Regions from separate parts of the Homo sapiens genome. Here region 2 is linked to region 1. Evidence: promoter capture Hi-C in human tissues and cell types (Jung and others, 2019). All regions are on one chromosome and are shown on one strand. The core of a region is centred on a gene start or on the middle of the fragment in contact, and the rest is flanking DNA. Distances in the headings are between cores, read along the strand shown.

Region 1 (2,713 bases), core at 177-2,676:
GCTCAAATTCCACCTTCTCAAGAAGCGTCCCCTGCCCAGATCCGCGAAGCCCTCTTTCCCACCCACTTCTGAGGACTGACTACCTGTTTGCACAAAGTGGTGTCTGTCTGCAGATAACCCTTCACTTTCCTTGGTGTACCTATCTCTACATTTTGGTTGTGAGTACCTGGAGGGCAAAAACCTTATCCCAAAATCCTCCTGCTCACCACCCACCCCCACCCCATCCTATATGCCTAGTTCCTGGCTGAGTCCAAAGCTCAGTGTCCAGTTTGATTGACAGGCGAGAGGCTGTGCAGGACCAGATACGATGAGCCACACTCCAGACTAGCAGGAATTTTCCTCAGGGGCAACACGTCCTCTAAAAACCTTCACTGGCAAGAAACCAAGAAACTTGAAGTGAGAAGAGAAACAGGATGAGGAGGGGATAACTGTGGCAAAATAGACCACACTTCAAAGGCTGAGGTTCAAGTTCCAGCTCTGCCTCTCTGTGAGCTCTGCAAGGGGCCTAACCTCACTCTGGTTTTCACATTTTCCCATTTCTAACCAGGTAACAAGATGATCCTCTCAGAGGAGAGTTGCAAGGCTTACATAAAGCCAGATGTGTAGCCATGTCTAGAATGTACTCACTCACTTAACAAATACTCATGAAACATCTGTAATGTGCCAAGCACTGAGGGCAACACAGAAGGGAACAAAAGACTGGCTAAACAGTCTGTGAAAACCAGAAAACTGTCATCAACAACACAGCAAGAGTAAAGAGGGAGGTGTGGGCATGCACAGGACACAAGGAGAGGGCCTCTCACCTGCCTGTGGTCAGGAAGCCTGGAAGGATGTCCTCGCCGACTGCACAGCCATGTTCTGTTTGCAAGGATAGAGGGAGCAGCATGCCTAGTCGGGGTGGTGGGGAAAGTACAACACAGGGAAGTGTGAAATCAGTAGTTCTGAGAAGGAGGCCTTCTGGCTTGGGATGGCTGGAGGGCAGAATGACTGTGGGCGACCAGCCTGGAGAAGAAGGCCTGACTCAGGAGGGCCTGCATGCAGAGCAGAGTTAGTCCTCATCCTCAGGTCCACGGGAGGCCACAGAAGCATTTTAAGCTAGAATGAGGATGACAGATAGTAGTGAGGCAGGCTGAGATGCAGGAAGGCCAGCGAGATCCAGCAAGGAGGATGTGGCTTGTGTGGGGGCTGTTGTCGCCACGTGTTAGCCAACCATGTGCATGTGAAAGAGGCTGACTTACAAGAATCTGCTCCTGTAAGCCCAGAGAGGCCCAGGGACAACTTCCACTTTATTCTGGATGTTTTCACTTTTGGGACATCCTGTTCTGAGTCAAGATTCCTCCTTCTGAACATGGGACTTTCCAGAAGGACCACAGCTCCTCCCGTGCATCCACTCGGCCTGGGAGGTTCTGGATTTTGGCTGTCGAGGGAGTTTGCCTGCCTCTCCAGAGAAAGATGGTCATGAGGCCCCTGTGGAGTCTGCTTCTCTGGGAAGGTAAGTGGGGCAGGCAGATAGCCTGTCCTCGGAGAGCTGAAGGCCCCTCCCCAGCTGCCTATGCCAGACGTCTGGGCAGGGATCCCTCGACCTGGGTGAGAACCCAGAAGCTGAGGGTGGGTAGGAAAGACTAGAACAAGCTCTTGGGCAACATTTTAAGCTAGGCAGATACAAAGAGATGCAGGGTCCTGGGAGGGAGGAGGTGGCAGCTTGAGGGGTATTCTTATCTGTGAGACATGAGCTGTTTTGTGGCCCAGAGCAGTAAAAACGGAGCCAGTGGGTGATACTGCTGGTTTGGAGAGAAAGTCGGCTGTGAGAATGGTGAGGACCCGGCAGTGTTAGCATGCAGAAACTCTGCAGAGTTTGAGGAGAGTAGCAGAGGGCAGGGCAGAGCAGGGTTCCCCACAATCAGCAGAGTGTGTTTTCAACAGCCTGTGGGGGAGCTGAGGTCCCTCCCTACAGGCCTTTATAAGGGGAGGCAAGTACTAAGTAGGGATGAGAGAGGCTAAATGTGGCCCACGTGGACTTAGGGGTGGCCGACGGTGGTGTGATGTTGGGATGGCTGATACACGGGGTCTCCTCCACACCGGGCGATCCCTCTATCCATCTGATGCCTGAGTTCCCTTCCTTGGTCAACAAGCAGCCAACATGACATGGGTCAACACTGCCGGGCCATGGATGAGGGTTTATGGGGTGCAGCAAAGATTAAGATGATATTGTTTACATCAGAGGCTCATAGGGACTTTGGGTTGCTTTGTTTCATCTCCTTGCCTGAGTTCCTGGCCCTGAGAGCTCCAAAGCCTGCAGATTTCTTCAATATTTCTAAACATGTGCAGGAAATCACACCTTAACCTCAAAAAAGGCCTTGGTCTGTTTGGTGAGACAAAAATAATTTGCCTTTTTTTTTTTTCTTTGAGACGGAGTCTTGCTCTGTCACCCAGGCTGGAATGCAATGGTGCATCTCAGCTCACTGTAACCTCTGCCTCCTGGGTTCAAGCGATTCTCCTGTCTCAGCCTCCTGAGTAGCTGGGATTACAGGTCACTGCCACTAAACCCGGCTAATGTTTGTATTTTTAGTAGAGACAGGGTTTCATCATGTTGACCAGGCTGGTCTCAAACTCCTGACCTCAAGTGATCCGCCCTCCTCAGCCTCCCAAAGTGCTGGAATTACAGGCATGAGCCACCACACCCAGCCCAAAAATAATTTTTCAAATGGCCCTT
Region 2 (2,700 bases), core at 194-2,693, 51 kb before region 1:
GCTCCAGAGAAGAGACACCTGGAGATCAACTCACTACCTCTGTGACCAGACCACTTTCTGGATGCTGCCGATGACCAAAGGAAAAACAGAGCTGCAGGACAAACAAGTCTTACACCAGGGCTTCTTAGTCATAGGTGTGCTTATGAGCCACCTGAGGATCTCACAGGTCGGGGGGCCTGAGATTCCGCATCTATCACAGGCTCCCATGTGACATCAACTGTGGATCACACCTTGAGAAGCACTGGTCTAAAGGTGGTGGAGGGAGCAGCCAGGAGTTTAGAAGGTGCCAAAACGAAACCAGATGCTGACAGTTTGTGAGTTCCATTGGTTCATCATATTTGTTGCATCTACACTGGAAAATGAACCTATGCGGCCTATAGTTTTAGAGACCGAAAAACTTAAAACAAAGGGGAAAGAAAAAAAGCAATACACCAGTTTAGAAACTCCAAAGGTTTAGTGCTGTGATGAGCATATTAAAGATAAGAAAATAAAGTAAATAAAGGCAACTATATTGGTTTTCTATTGCTGCATAACAAATTGCCACAAACATAATGGCTAAAGAAACACCATTTATGATGTCAGTTCTGTAGGTCAGAAGTTGGCCACAGGTTAGCTGAACCTAAGCTCAGGGTCTCCTCAGGCTGATATCAAAGTGCCAGCCAGGCTATGGCTCAGCTGAGGCTCGAGGCAGCGTAAACAGAAGAAGTGAGAGAGTCCACCAACATGGTTTTGATCACAGAAGTGCCTCTTCCCTAACTGAATGCTCCCTCTTGATTCCACTCTCACCTGCCTTTGTTGAATGGCTTTTCAAAAACCAAAGCCTAGTCCCCACCTCCCTCCCCATCTCCAGCTCCCATGATGATAGCATCTGATGTGAGGCAGCATTCCCAACACCCCAACTTAAACTTTTAATGTGCTCCTGGGATGATCTAAAAAAAAAGAAAAAAACACCATAATTTTAAATGCCATAAAGGCAATTGACTTGTCAAAAGTACAAGAAATCAACTAGTAAATTGGGAGATTTCAGTTATGGTATGTTCTGCAACAGTATACGAATCACAAATTTTTCAACAAGACAAAAAAAAGAGAAACAAGGAAAAGCTATCAGTGCCATCTTGTGGAAAGACCTATATTAAAATGTCCAAGGTAATCTGACCACACCCCAGACCATTTCAGCGCCTCTACACCCAAAGCTGACACACATCCAACTGACACCAGGGTAGCTTCACTGTTTGTTTGCAGGTAATGGTTCTGGTAGAGGTTCCATTTTAATTGCTTGTTTCTTGTGCCATGACCAATCATTAAATAATTTGTATATCATCTCTAACCATACAAATACCACAGCAACCTATACCTCCAACACCACACACACACAAAACTCATGCCCAGACTACTCTGGTTGGTTCCCCCACAGACAGCATGGTTCTCCAAATATGGAAAATTTGCATTGATCTATCACAACATTCCTGCATACACACACTTAGACCACAACTGCTTACAGTATAATTCTTTCTTTTTGAATTAACCTTTGTTTTAATTTTATTTTATTTCTTGAGTTTATTGTAAGTTATTTTTCTTCTTTCCTTCAAACTGAATATTTTTATCTATATTAGTTACATATTACTGCATAATAAATTACCCAAAATTTGATGGCTTAAAAGAATAAATATTTATTATCTCACAGTTTCTGTAGGTAAGGAATTCAGGAGAGGCTTAGCTGGGTTGTTCTGGCTCAGGGAATCCATGAGGCTATAATCAAGATGTTGGGTAAATCATCTAAAGTCTTCATGGGCTGGAGAATTCACTGCAACAGTAGTGAGCCACTGACTTGATGGTGGGTAGGAGGCTTCAGTTCCTCACCACATGGATCTCTCCACACAGCTGCTTGAGAGTTCTCACAACATGGCAGCTGGCTTCTTCCCAAAGCTTCCCATGGCAGGCCTTCTTTCCAAGACAGAACAAGGCAAAAATTAAGTATTTCATGATGCAGCCTAGGAAGTCACACACCACCAGTTACACAATATCTTACTGGTTGCAAAAATCAGCCCTATCAATGTGGAAAAGCACTACACAGGCATGAAATGGCTCATTGGGTACCATCTTGGAAGCTAGCTGCCATACCATTTCTTCTTAGGTTCAGTTTCCAGATTATCAGATCTTAGGTGTGAAGTGTGTTTAGACATTAAAAAATCAGAACACTGAGGACACTGAGAATTCTGACTGTAGTCCAAGGGCCACAGGAACCTGAACCCAAGCAATCCTTTGCATTGGTGGAACACAGGGACCTACCTGGAGGAAGAAATTCTCTGACTCCAATTGCACCCCTAATTGCCACTAGCATCAAGCCAAACAGGGGACTGGGGCCTCAATATGAACAAGAACTAAGTCAAAACATTCTTATCAGCTGGAAAAAGGGAAGCTGAGATGCCCTAAAAAATGTTCTGTTAAGCCTTATTTTTTACTTTTAAGTTCAGGGGTACATGTGAAGAATGTGCAGGTTTGTTACATACGTAAAAGTGTGCCATGGTGGTTTGCTGCACAGATCATCCCATCACCTAGGTTTTAAGCCCAGCATCCATTAGCTATTCTTCCTGATGTTCTCCCTCCCCAAGTCCCCACCCCAGACAGGCCCCAGCATTTGTTGTTCCCCATCCCCATGTGTCCATGTGTTCTCATCATTCAGCTCCCACTTGTAAGTAA

The links. Contacts are between HindIII fragments. The study calls those that stand out against the background at their distance.
Region 2: a contact is called between a fragment that was not itself captured here and the fragment with the promoter of SLAMF8 in region 1, in 16 of the 25 tissues and cell types used here (IMR-90 fibroblasts, adrenal gland, aorta and 13 more).

The regions. Positions count from the first base shown.
Region 1 is chr1:159,825,447-159,828,159 of GRCh38, forward strand. It overlaps SLAMF8 (SLAM family member 8), which reads left to right and starts at 1,427. Exons shown (of 5, transcript NM_020125.3): 1 at 1,427-1,492. The coding sequence starts at 1,453. The HindIII fragment of the contact is 29,109 bases long and covers 1-2,713 here.
Region 2 is chr1:159,774,812-159,777,511 of GRCh38, forward strand. LOC101928264 (a long non-coding RNA gene) reads right to left here. Exons shown (of 3, transcript XR_922193.3): 3 at 1,646-1,944. Among named protein-coding and RNA genes, the nearest start is that of DUSP23, 4.8 kb to the right of the region's middle. The HindIII fragment of the contact is 6,090 bases long and covers 1-2,700 here.